Linked DNA regions of Homo sapiens: region 1 is linked to region 2. Evidence: promoter capture Hi-C in human tissues and cell types (Jung and others, 2019). All regions are on one chromosome and are shown on one strand. The core of a region is centred on a gene start or on the middle of the fragment in contact, and the rest is flanking DNA. Distances in the headings are between cores, read along the strand shown. Region 1 overlaps BRF1 (BRF1 general transcription factor IIIB subunit). Region 2 holds the start of PLD4 (phospholipase D family member 4).

Region 1 (6,976 bases), core at 459-2,958, 360 kb after region 2:
GAACGGGCACCAGGACTGTCATGCAGTCACTAAGCCAAACTGAGGATCCAGAAATGAGCTTTTAGGTTTACGGTCAATCGATTTTCAGCAAGGGCACCAAGAGGATGCCAACTGGCAAAATACAGTGTTTTCAACACATGGTCCTGAGAAAACTGGGTCTGCACGTGCAGGAGTGAAGGCAGGCCCTTACCTTACATCACATGCAAACGCTGACTCAATATGGACCAAAACCTACTGGAAAGAGAGGAAGGCGCAAAACTCCAAAAAATCATAAGCACAAATCTTCACGATTTGGACTGGATTAGGCAACATTTGTTAGTTATGATACCAAAAGCACAGCCATCAAGAGACTAAATAGGTAAACTGGATACTATCAGAATTTAAAACTTTCATGCTCCAAAGGATACCAGCGAAAAATAAAAAGACAAAAGAAAATGAAAAGAACGCATGAAATGGCTGAAAATGTCCTATAAATCACACATCCGATAAAAGACTTGTACCTAAAACACATAAAATCACACATCCGATAAACGACTTGCACCTAAAATATATAAAATCACACATCCGATAAAAGACTTGTACCTAAAACACATAAAGAACTTTTTCAACTCAATCATAAGACAAATAACCCAGCAGACATTTCTCCAGTTTGTGGTGAACTGGCACTTTGACAAAACGCAGTGAGAATGTCACTACAATATCCAACTGCTATAAATGTGTTATTTCTGCCTCCATCTCACTGAGGCCATCAAGCAATGGCTGTGGATCCTGTGGGATCCACTGGGTTCTCCCCAAACAGCCCTGGCAGAGTCTGCAGGACACCCAGGAGGGGACTCAGGGCACAATTCCTCCTGGAAAGCAGCCTGGGCTGGGCGTGCAGGGTGACGAGGAAGTGGCAGGCCATGAGGTCCATGGCTGAGTCAGTGCCCTCCACCCTAGCACCACCATCCCCATCTCTGGGACCCGCCGCACGCTCAGCAGCATCCGCGGTGGGAAATACCATTCTGCAGGGTCTGCGCTCTCGACTCCTTCCCCAGATTCACGTGGAAGCCGCCACCCAGAGTCGGGGTTTTGCCAGCACCTGGAAACACAAAAAAAGACAGATCAGCCAAAACTTGGAGATCTGCATTTACAACCCTTTCCTAACATCCACAGACACAAAGTGAGAACAAAGCGGGGGTCAGCACTCATGGGGGAAGCAGCAGGTCGGCCCCCCGCACCTCCGTCACTGAGCCAGGAACCCCAGTGGGGGAAGCATCTCTCACTCTGCCCAGCCAGCAGGGTTGAGGGTGGGCCAACTGCACTTTCCGCATTTTCTTTTTTTTTTTGAGACGGAGTCTCCCTCTGTTGCCCAGGCTGGAGTGCAGTGGTCCCATCTCCACTCACTGCAAGCTCCGCCTCCTGGGTTCACGCCATTCTCCTGCCTCAGCCTTCCAAGTAGCTGGGACTATAGGTGCCCGCCACCACGCCCGGCTGGGATTACAGGCACTTTCTGCATTTTCTAACCATGTCCCTAACACACTGCAAGTCCAGAGTGGACGCTGTCAAATGGCTGCCGGGCGAGAACACAGATGTACCTCCAAACCTCTGCAAGTGGTGCACACACAGCATGGGCTGGCCGTCCCCCTTGCCCCAGGCCAGCCCACTCAGATATCACTCCTGCATGGTGACCACATGTGAACACATCCACCTCCCTGCTGGACTGCAGGGGACGCAGGTACCATCCCATGTGCCCCAAGGCACTGCAACCAGCCAGTCTGCAGAAGGCCCCCACGCCTCAGTCCACCCACCCATGGGGAGGCTGCAGCTGAACCTGCTGGACACTCTACTCCGAAGCTCTGCCAACTGACAGCATGCCTACGACGTCCACCACATTCTGCCCTGCAGGGCTTCGGGGTTAAGACCTGGCCCTGGTACCTCTGGAAACATCAGGTGGACATTTGGATTGTTCACCAGGTTCACCAGCCCGATCGCTGCAGCCTGATCTCCCAATGAGCATGGTGGACATGTGGATTGTTCACCAGGTTCACCAACCCAAACGCTGCGGCCTGATCTTCCAACGAGAACAGTAAGGTGAGGCCCCAGGCATGCCCAAAGATGGGGAGAGCTGGAAAGTGCCCCCCGCCCCGCAGCGTCGGCCCTCAGTGGTTGGCACAGGGGCCAGTGCATTTGTGACAAAGCACAGACACAGGACTGGAGGCTGCTGCAATCGGGACGCGCAGACAACCTTGGCCACTTGGGGGAAGGCAAGTGTGTAGGGCCTGTCGGAGGACACTGGAAGGATAGGATGCAGAAGCAGAAAGCCAATCGCTGGAGCCTGGGGCCAGGCCCTCCAGGGAAACCATGAGGCAGGGACCTCAGCGTCATCCAGGGGCAGCCACCAGCACAGACAAGGCAGAACAGGCACGGCCTCTGGCTTCACAATGAATGTAACTGAATCCCAAACAAATACTAACAACACTCTTTAAAGACTCCAGTAAAATGATTCTAAAGTTCAGTTGGAAGCAAAAAGGAATTAGAGCAGCCAAGAAAAGTTTTGAAGAGAGCAAGGGGCAGCTACTGGGCCCGTCCGGAAACTCAGAGCTGAACAGGGTCAGGTGGCACTCAGCTTTTCCTGGTGGCAGCAGAGGCAAAGCCCGGGCCTCCTTCAGGCTGAGGCCCAGAGCCGGCCTCCTGGTGGGTAACGTGGCCACAGGGGTGGCCGGCAGCAGCAGCAGGGCACCAGCACTGAGCACAGGCCTCCAACAAAGGTGGTGCCGGGACGGGGGCAGTGCCTGGAGACTACCTAGGTTGTCACAACTGGGATCTATGTACTAGTTTTCTGTGGCTGCCATAAAAATTGCCACAAACCTAGTGGCTTTCAAGAAGCTGTAGAAGGTCCGGGCGCGGTGGCTCACGCTTGTAATCCCGGCACTTTGGGAGGCCGAGGTGGGTGGATCACGAGGTCAGGAGATCGAGACCATCTTGGCGAACATGGTGAAACTCTGTCTCTACTAAAAATACAAAATTAGCCAGGCGTGGTGGCGGGTGCCTGTGATCCCAGCTACTCAGGAGGCTGAGGCAGGAGAATCGCTTGAACCCAGGAGGTGGAGGTTGCAGTGAGCAGAGATGGTGCCACTGCACTCCAGCCTGGGTGACAGAGCAAGACTCCGTCTCAAAAAAATAAAAATAAAAATAAAAATAAAATAAAGTAAAAAAGAAGCTGGAGTGGTGGCCGGGCATGGTGGCTCACACCTGTGGTCCCAACACTTTGGGAGGCCGGAGCAGGAAGATCGCCCAACCCAGGAGTTCAATACCAGCCTGGGCAACACGGGGAGACCCATTTCTTTCTTTCTTTCTTTCTTTTTTTTTTTTTTGAAACAGAGTTTCGCTCTGTCACCCAGGCTGGAGTGCAGTGGCGTGATCTTGGCTCACTGCAAGCTCTGCCTCCTGGGTTCATGCCATTCTCCTGCCTCAGCCTCCCGAGTAGCTGGGACTACAGGTGCCTGCAACCACGCCCGGCTAATTTTTTGTGTTTTTAGTAGAGACGGGGTTTCACTGTGTTAGCCAGGATGGGGGGAGACCCATTTCTACAAAAAAAAACTGAAAAAAATTAGCTGGGTGTGGTGGCACCTGCTTGTGGTCCTACTACTCAGGAGGCTGAGGTTGGAGGATCACTAGAGCCCGGGAGGTCGAGGCTGCAATGAGCTGAGATCGTGCCACTGCACTCCAGCCTGGGTGACAGAGCAAGACCCTGTCTCAAAAAAAAAAAAAAAAAGAAGCTAGAACAGGCCAGGCATAGTGGCTCACATCTGTAATCACAGCACTTTGAGAGGCTGAGGCAGGAAGACTGCTTGAGCCCAGGAGTTCAAGACCAGCCTGGACAACATAGCAAGATCCCATCTCTACAAAAAAAAAATGAGCGGGGTATGGTAGGGCATGCCTGTGGTCCCAGCTACTCAGGTGGCTGAGGCAGGCAGATCGTTTGAGTCCAGAAGGTGGAGGCTGCAGTGAGCTGTGATGCACCTCTGCACTCCAGCCTGAGCAACACGGTGAGAACCTGTCTGAACAAATAATAAACTAAACAGAAGCTGGAGCAGGTCGCAGTGGTGTCTCCTTGTGGGGGCTGGAGAGGACCTGGCAGGGCCACAGTGAGGTGCCTGCTGATATGAGAATCCAGAAGAGAGGCCAGGGAGAAACGCAGGACTCAGGAGAGACCCATCCTGGAATAAGGGGGCTTTGAGCAGCACTGATGAGCCAATTCTAAATTCTGCAGAAATCTGGCCCAGGCCTCCCCAGGCTGAGCTCCAGGTGCCTGCAACTCCGACCCTCCCTCAGAGTTCTTTGTTTTGTGAGCAGTGTGTATTCTTTTTTTTTTTGAGACGGAGTCTCGCTCTATCGCCCAGGCTGGAGTGTAGTGGTGCGATCTCGGCTCACTGCAACCTCCGCCTCCCGGATTCAAGCAATTCTCCTGCTTCAGCCTCCTGAGTAGCTGGAACTACAGGTGCGTGCCACCACGCCCAGCTGATTTTTGTATTTTTACTAGAGATGAGGTTTCACCACGTTGGCCAGGCTGGCCTTGAATTCCCGACCTCAAGTGATCCACCCACCTCGGCCTCCCAAAGTGCTGGGATTACAGGCGTGAGCCACCACGCCCCGCCTGTTTTTTCTAAGCGTTCGAATTAAGATCACCATTCTGTGTAGCCCCTGGCATGCTGGTCTCCAGCACATGCTCCCTCACCAACTTTCACTTTAGAAAAAGAAAAATCTCACTATATTCTAATTAGTGTATATAATGCTTTTAATAAATAACTCATATAACACTACATTAGAAAAAGGACAATGATCAAAGTATAAAAAGCCAGCTGGGTGCAGTGGCTCACGCCTATAACCCCAGCACTTTGGGAGGCCGATGCGGTTGGATCACCTGAGGTTGGGAGTTCGAGACCAGCCTAACCAACAAGGAGAAACCCCGTGTCTACTAAAAATATGAAATTACCCAGGCATGGTGGCACATGCCTGTAATCCCAGCTACTCAGGAGGCTGAAGCGGGAGAATCACTTGAACCTGGGAGGCAGAGGTTGTGGTGAGCCGAGATCGCGCCATTGCACTCCAGCCTGGGCAACAAGAGCGAAACTCCATCTCAAAAACAAATAAATAAAAAGCCCCTGAAGCCCCACCTTCCAAGAACAGGGGACGCCGTACAGCCTCCATTATAGCCACGTTTCCCTGCCTAGGTACAGTGGGCTGCAGGCGTGCTTCTGACAGAACAGGGCCACAGTGAGATGCCACGTTAAATTACAGTGATGATTTCGATTCTGGTTGTGTTTTACGCAATCTCTTCACTCCTTGACCCATACCCATCAGCTTGCACCACAGCACACTGCAAAGCTGCATGCGTCAGCAGCTCCACGCTCCACCTGCCACCTCTGCCCTCCCTCCTCCATCACTCTGTCTTGCACCCTCCAGCCTCCCATACCCTCCTCACACCCCAGGACCTCTGTTTCCTGTCCCTGTGTTGTTCTCCCTGTCCCCCAACACCACAGTCACCCTCCCTGGGGCCACGCTGCTGCACCTGCTCTGGAAGCGCCTCCTGGCTTCTGCTTGCCTCACACCCTGGTGCGTGCACACTTGCAGGCACACACACACAGGACACATGTGGACAGTGTGAAACCTCAGAACACTAACCCACAGGGAGGATGAAAGAGGAAAGTGCCACCTCTGGCTGAAACTGCCAGGATGCCCTCTACTTCTAAAAACATTTGGTATTTTCCATAGCGTGTTTCTATAACAAAAAATATGTGCTAGTTCCCGTTAGCTGGAACTGACATGTGGAAGGGGCCAGGTCTTGTGGGGCCTGGCCAAGACTGCCCCCCTGTGTACAGCAAGGGAGGACCTGCGGTTCCACCAGAGCCAGAGCAGGGCCAGAGGCCGCAGGGGCACCTCTGAGCTCCGACAAAGCCAGCAACACCCCATACCGCCGAACAGACAGAAAGGCGGGCCAGGGGCCCTCCATGTCCTGAAAGACCCAGCACAGCACTGTCCATTTCACACCAGGATTCTTCCAACATGAGAAAGCAATAACCTTTAATATTCACGTGCTCATTCAACTTAACTGGGGGCGGGCTCAGTGGCTCATGACAGTAATCTCGGCATTTTGGGAGGCCGATGTGGGTGGGTCACTTGAGGTCAGAAGTTCAAGACCAGCCTGGCCAACAGGGCGAAACCCCGTCTCTACTAAAACATACAAAAAAAAAATTAGCCAGGCATGGTGGTGTGCTCCTGTAGTCCCAGCTACTCGGGAGGCTGAGGCAGGAGAACTGCTTGAACCCAGGAGATGGAGGTTGCAGTGAGCCAAGACTCTGTCAAAAAAAAATTTTTTTTTAACTGGAGACTTTCTGTTGCTGCTGTGAAACTTCCTTTTTTTAAGAGACAGGGTCTGGCCGGGCGTGGTGGCTCACGCCTGTAATCCCAGCACCTTCGGAGGCCAAGGCGGGTGGATCACCTGAGGTCAGGAGTTTGAGACCAGCCTGGCCAACATGGCGAAACCCCGTCTCTACTAAAAACACAAAAATTAGCCGGGCATGGTGGCACATGCCTGTAATACCAGCTACTTGGGAGGCTGAGGCAGGAAAATCGCTTGAACCCGGGAGGCGGAGGCTGCAGTGAGATGAGATTGCGCCATTGCACTCCAGCCTGGGCAACAAGAGAGACACTCCATCTCAAAAAGAAAAAAAAAGAAGTCTCACTCTGTCACCCAGGCTAAAGCGCAGGGGCACCATCACGGCTCACTGCAGCCTCAACCTCTCGGACTCAAGGAATCCTCCCACCTCAGCCTCCCAAATAGGCGGGACCACAGACATGCGCCACCACGCCTAGCTAATGTTTTCTTATTTTTTGTTTTCTTTGTTTGTTTTTTTGAAGACAAGACAGAGTTTCGCTCCTGTCGCCCAGGCTGGAGTGTAATGGCACGATCTTGGCTCACTGCAACCTCCAC
Region 2 (6,156 bases), core at 3,135-5,634:
TGGGATTACAGGCGTGAGCCACCGTGCCCGGCCTATTTATTTTTTAAACAGTGTCTTGCTCTGTCACCCAGACTGGAGTGCAGTGGCATCATATTGGCTCACTGCAACCTCTGCCTCCTGGGTTCAAGTGATTCTTCTGCATCAGTCTCCCAAGTAGCTGGGACTACAGGCATGCGCCACCATGCCTGGCTAATTTTGTATTTTTAGTAGAGACAGGGTTTCATCAAGTTGGCCAGGCTAGTCTCAAACTCCTAGACTCAAGTGATCTGCCCACCTCGGCCTTCCAAAATGCTGGGATTATGAGCTACTGCACCTGGTCACATTAAAAAAAATTTTTTTAGCAACAGGGTCTCACTGTATTGTGCAGGCTGGTCTCAAACTCCTGGTCTGGAGTGATTCTCTCACCTTGGCCTCCCAAAACTCTGGGATTGCAGGCGTGAGTCACCTTGCCCAGCCTGCTGGGAGTTTTTATCATGAAGAAGGGATGTCGAATTTTATCACATGCTTTCTCTGTATCTATTGAGATGACCATACGGTTTTTGTCCTTTAATCTGTGATTTGACGTATTGCATGTATTGATTTGCGTATGTTGAACCATCCTTGCATCCCCAGGATAAATCCCACTTAGTCATAATGTATTATCTTTCAATGTGCTATTAGATTCAATTTGCTAGTATGTTGTTGAGGATTTTTGTGTATCTATTCATCAGGAATATTGACCTGTAGTTTTCTTTTTTGTTGTTGTGTCCCTGCCTGGTTTGAGTATCAGGATAATGCTGGCCTCATAGAATGGGTCAGAGAGAATTCCCTCCTCTTCAGTTTTTTGGAACAGTTTAAGGAGAAATGGTATTAGTTCTTTTTTGTAAGTTTGGTAGAATTTAGTAGTAAAGCCATCTGGTCTATAGGCCTTTTGCGTTGTTGTTGGGAGATTTTTATTACTGTTCCAATCTCATCACTCCTTATTGATCTGTTCGGGTTTTTTTGTTTCTTCCTGATTCAATCTCGGCAGCTACGCGTGTCCAGGGATGTCTCCATTTCCTCCAGGTTTCCAGTTTCTGAGTGTATAATTTCTCATGTAGTCTCTGGTGATCTTTTGTATTTCTGTGATATCAGTTGTAATGTCTCTTTTTTGTTTCTGGTTTTGGTTATTTGGGTTGTCTCTCTTTTTTTCTTCATTATCAACTTAGAATATTTTCAGCTTCCATTTATGATGGGCTTATCAGGACATAGCTCCACCATGAGGTGAGGTGTGTCTGATGTGCTTACGGTGGGGTTTAAGTGCTCCCACAAGCCTGCTCTGACAGTCTGTACTTATTTGGGGTAAAAAACAAAAAAAAACAAAAAAAAAAAAAACAAAAAACTTAGCTCTGCTGACAAATAATGAGTCATATTTTCCCACAAAGTTAATTTTTGAAATAACAAAGGAAATTAAAGAAAAAATGTTCAGGCTGGGCACGGTGGCTCACACCTGTAATCCCAGCACTTTGGGAGGCCGAGGCAGGCAGATCACGAGGTCAGGAGATTGAGACCATCCTGGCTAACACGGTGAAACCCCGTCTCTACTAAAAATACAAAAAATTAGCTGGGCGTGGTGGCGGGCACCTGTAGTCCCAGCTACTCGGGAGGCTGAGGCAGGAGAATGGCGTGAACCTGGGAGGCAGAGCTTGCAGTGAGCCAAGATCACACCACTGCACTCCAGCCTGGGCGACAGAGCGAGACTCCGTCCAAAAAAAAAAAAAGTAAAATGACAGGAAAAGATATAACATTCAAACAGCAACTCAAAGAGAGGTGGAGTTCCTATACTAATATCAGAAAATATAGATATTAAGACAAAAATTATTGTTAGAGACAAAGAAGGATGTGTTATAATGATAAGAGGGTGATCCATAAGGAAGATATAATAACTAGAAACACATATGCACTAGCTGGGCACGGTGGCTCATGCCTGTAATCTCAGCACTTTGGGAGCCTGAGGCGGGTGGATCACGAGGTCAGGAGATTGAGACCATCCTGGCTAACACGGTGAAACCCCGTCTCTACTAAAAATACAAAAAATTAGCTGGGCATGGTGGCGGGCGCCTGTAGTCCCAGCTACTCTGGAGGCTGAGGCAGGAGAATGGCCTGAACCTGGGAGGCGGAGCTTGCAGTGAGCCGAGATGGCGCCACTACACTCCAGCCTGGGCGACAGAGCAAGACTCCATCTCAAAAAAAAAAAAAGTTTTGCTTCATGGGAAATCCCCAAAGTCCCTCCCCACACCCCATGGGACCAAAGGGCCCTAGACCTCAGGGTGGGGCCTGCAGCGCAGGGAGCAGAGCCGGCAAGGAGCTGCCCTCAGGTCGTTCCTGGCCACACAGCCAGCCTCGGAGCCACTGAGAGGCCTGCCCTGGGTCCCGAATCTAGACGCCCCTTCCAGCCTCAATCTTTCTTCCAGGGTAAGCAGCCTGAGAGGCCAAGAGGACAGTCCACCGAACCCTGAGCCCAAGGCCCAGGATTCCTTGCTTAAACATCCCCAAGCCTGGATCCATCCTCCCGAGGTAGAGCTGCCTGAGCTGTACCCAGTCCTGCTGGCCTGAGGGGCAGCCAGGGGAGGTGACGTGGTGCTTTTCTGGGGCTGCAATGAGCTCAGACCCACGGGCTGGGTGTAGCATGTGGGCTCATTGAGGCCCCTCACAATGTGGGGAAATCGGAGAGGGGACTGGCTGGGGCTGGCCCTCCTGCAAGGACTTCTGAGAGTGCTCCAAGGAGCCCTGGGGTCCTCCACTTGCCCCTGGCCTTCCAGGCCCTCACACACCATTGTTGTCCAGACAGAAGAGACTGGGCGCTGTGGTTCACGCCTGTAATCCCAGCACTTTGGGAGGCCGAGGCGGGTGGATCATCTGAGTTCAGGAGTTCGAGACCAGCCTGGCCAACATGGTGAAACCCCGTCTCTAATAAAAAATACAAAAATTAGCCGGGCGTGGTGGCACGTGCCTTAATCCCAGCTACTTGGGAGACAGAGGCAGGAGAATCGTATGAACTCGGGAGGCAGAAGTTGCAGTGAGCCGAGATAAAGCCGTTGCACTCAAACCTGGGGTACAAGAGCGAGACTTCTCTCAAAGGAAAAAGAAAAAAAAAAAGACAGAAGAGAACCTGTTCTGTCTAACTGCCTTTTGCTTGAGTGCAGGGAAGGCAGCCTCCCTTCATACTCATGCCCCAGCCCTGCAAATGTCACAGCAGGACCCACCTGGCTGCCCCTCCCCATACCCAGAGTAACCCTCACCCAGAGTCCCTGGAGGACCCAACCCTCGGGGGCATGCCTGGGGCCCAGCTGCATTCAGGCATCCAGCAACCCAGCCAGAGGGCTGGGGCTCCCCAACCATGGCCGGGAGGTAAGGGCTGAACCCAAGGCCAAATCAGAGCATCAGGAAGGTGAAGAGAGATCTGGGAGGGGCTAGGGAGAGGATGGATCTCTTCCCCATTCACTTCCTGGCCCACCCAGACTGGCCCCAGGGGTGCAGCTGACAGGCCCCACCCTTGGGAACTGCACCCTCCTGACTGGTGTCCTGCAGGCACCCTGAGGCCATCACCCTGGACCCCTGCCCTACATAGGCCTTACAAGGAGGAGCCAGGGTGGACACCCAGACCTCATTGAAAGTAGGAGTGTTCTCAAGGTCCCAGACCTTACTCAGGGACCCCAGTCGGGGGGTGGGGCAGTGGGAGGCAGAGCCCCTTGCTAGGAGCTTCTAGCCAGGCCCACCTTTTCAGATATGCCAGTGAGCAGCCCCAGCTTCGTTCTCCAAGATAAAGACCCTAGTTACCTCCATTGCTCAGCCTCCCTTGCAGCTAAGTGTAGCCATGTGACTAAGTTCTAGATCAAGTTCCAGATCACAGATAAGTGGAAGTGCCCTGTGGGACTTCCAGGAAGTCTCCTCTGGGATGTCCCTTATTCTCTGCTAAGAACACAGAGGCAATGGCTGAGTTCCAGCAGCCACTGTGAGGCCATGAAGGCAGGGATCCTAGGGACTGGGATCTGAGAGCCTGGCTCCCAATGGCAGTGGAGCAATGCCATCATCTCTAGCAAGGCCGTCTCTAGCCTGCCAGCCCCTGGACCTGCTTAGTGTTCGAGAGTAATGAACAACCTTGCTGAAGCCACTGTTCCTTAGGTGTCTGTGGCCTGCAGCTGAACTTGACTCCGATTCGTAGGCCCGCAACTGGAGGGCCTCTACCTCGAGGGAGTGGGGTGTAGATTTTTCCTGGAGGTGAAGGTTCTCAGCCCTACCCTCTAGCCCGCCCACCCAGCTCCAGCCGTCTGTTTCTGTCTCAGATGAGAGGGGGCCTCTCAGGACAAAGAGGAAGTAGCTGGAAGGGGAAGGAGCCAGCTGCAGAGAGGAGGAGGTGAGCTGCAGAGAAGAGGAGGTTGGTGTGGAGCACAGGCAGCACCGAGCCTGCCCCGTGAGCTGAGGGCCTGCAGTCTGCGGCTGGAATCAGGATAGACACCAAGGCAGGACCCCCAGAGGTATGTGCCAATGAGGCCAGGGCAGCTGAGAAAAGCCAGGCATGGGGAAAGGGCTGCTGTCTGCCTCCCTATGGCCTCAGCCTCCCAGCAACCCCAGGTCCAGAGAGTCACACAGCCTCCAGCTAGTCCTGTAGATGACTCGCTCCGTCCCCAGTCCGTGCAGCTGGGATAAGCTGGGCCCTGGCTCTCCAGCCAGGTGACAGCTGGGCCCTCTACCTCAGCCTGGGACTGGCAGCCATGCCTAATGCCCTGCAGGGCAGGAAATCTGGCACCTTCAGCCATGACCTCTGATGTCTGCAGGGTCTTACGCTATCTACCATGGGACCAGGGGGCTACAGCCCTACTCTGCAGGGGTCTCTCAGCTTGAGCCAACCTGGCTGGCGGTCCTCCCAGGTTCCATTGCAGGAGGAGGTGGTGAGGCGCTCTGGGGTCTGTAGTCCTGGGAGGGGACTTGGACAGGCTCCAAGTCTGAGATGGGGCCTGCAAGAGGCAGCGCCTCTGTGCTCTGAGCTGCCCGTCTGCCTGGAGCATTTAAGGGAGCAAAGGTCCTCTCTGGTGAGGGCAGGGAGTGTGGGGAGCAGCTGTCCAAGAACAGCCCTGGCACCTCGTTGCCCAGCCACAGCCCAGGATTCCATGTTTCCTCTCATTGACCAGCCACAGCCCAGGATTCCATGTTTCCTCTTCTGAGAGTTAGTGGGGGAGAGCAAAGGCCCGATGCTGGGCCCTGAATCCCTGGGGACAGTGGGGACACGGTGGGCACCCTGAGGTCTCCTCTGTGGGGTGGGGGGAGCATCCCCCAGAGTTCAGCTCTGGGGTGGGGGCGGCACCCACCCACCTCTGCAGGACCCCCCAGCGTGGGGGGAGTTGGGCCGCAGTGACTTGGCCTGAGTCCCCTGTCCCCACACTTGGTTTATGCTCCTACCCCCAATCCCCCATAACGCTTGGTCTCCAGGGCAGACTCAGTCCAGGCCCGACTCCTGTGGTGTTCCTGGCATTTCCGCCCCATGCTGAGGCAGGCCAGGTTCTCAAAGCCCTCAGCCCTGACCCGTGGGAGGACAGCCCAGACGAACCCCAGAGGCCTGGAGGCTGAGCTGGCTGCTCCTGGGTGGACAGCCGACCCACCGAGCCCTGGGTCCCAGCGCCCAGCCTGGCTGCAGACACTGGCACTCAGCACTGCCCAGGCCCAGGCCCCAAACCTCGGAGACATCCCCATCCCAGCCAGGGGCCAGCCAGCTCCTGCCCTGGTGGATGTCTCAGTCAGAGGCTGGCCAGCCAGGTGACCATGCTGGGCACAGACCCCTCCCTGCACCCGGGGAGGGCGCCTCTGTACTTGTGAGGCACCCTTCCCCCATGGTGGCACCTGGGGCAGCCTGACTGCTTGCTTTGGGGGTAGGAGTGGGGATGGGAGCCCACATCCCACAGGGCCCAGATGGCCTGGCTCCCAGCTCCTTGTGGGGTGACCACTCTGAGGAGATAAGGCGAGTCCCTGCAGCAGAGGACAACCCCCTCTGCCAGCAGTAGGGGTCCCACTCTGCCGCCATCTCTGCCCTCTCCACGCCTAGCCTCTCCAGCAAGGGTACTGCTCAGCTGCCCCCTCTGACCTGTGGCTCTCTGGAGGGGCTGCCGTGGGGCCAAGACAGGAGCCCAGCCCAGGAGGGAA

The links. The method cuts DNA at HindIII sites, captures the fragments that hold promoters and counts their contacts. A contact is called where the count stands out against the background at its distance.
Region 1: a contact is called between a fragment that was not itself captured here and the fragment with the promoter of PLD4 in region 2, in 1 of the 25 tissues and cell types used here (dorsolateral prefrontal cortex).

What each region holds. Positions count from the first base shown.
Region 1 is chr14:105,285,296-105,292,271 of GRCh38, forward strand. It overlaps BRF1 (BRF1 general transcription factor IIIB subunit), which reads right to left. Exons shown (of 18, transcript NM_001519.4): 2 at 1,001-1,081. Among named protein-coding and RNA genes, the nearest start is that of BRF1, 12 kb to the right of the region's middle. RefSeq lists an enhancer at 628-1,526. The HindIII fragment of the contact is 6,229 bases long and covers 1-4,823 here.
Region 2 is chr14:104,920,495-104,926,650 of GRCh38, forward strand. PLD4 (phospholipase D family member 4) reads left to right here and starts at 4,385. Exons shown (of 11, transcript NM_138790.5): 1 at 4,385-4,496. RefSeq lists enhancers at 2,114-2,163, 4,558-4,727, 4,710-5,219. The HindIII fragment of the contact is 18,191 bases long and covers 1-6,156 here.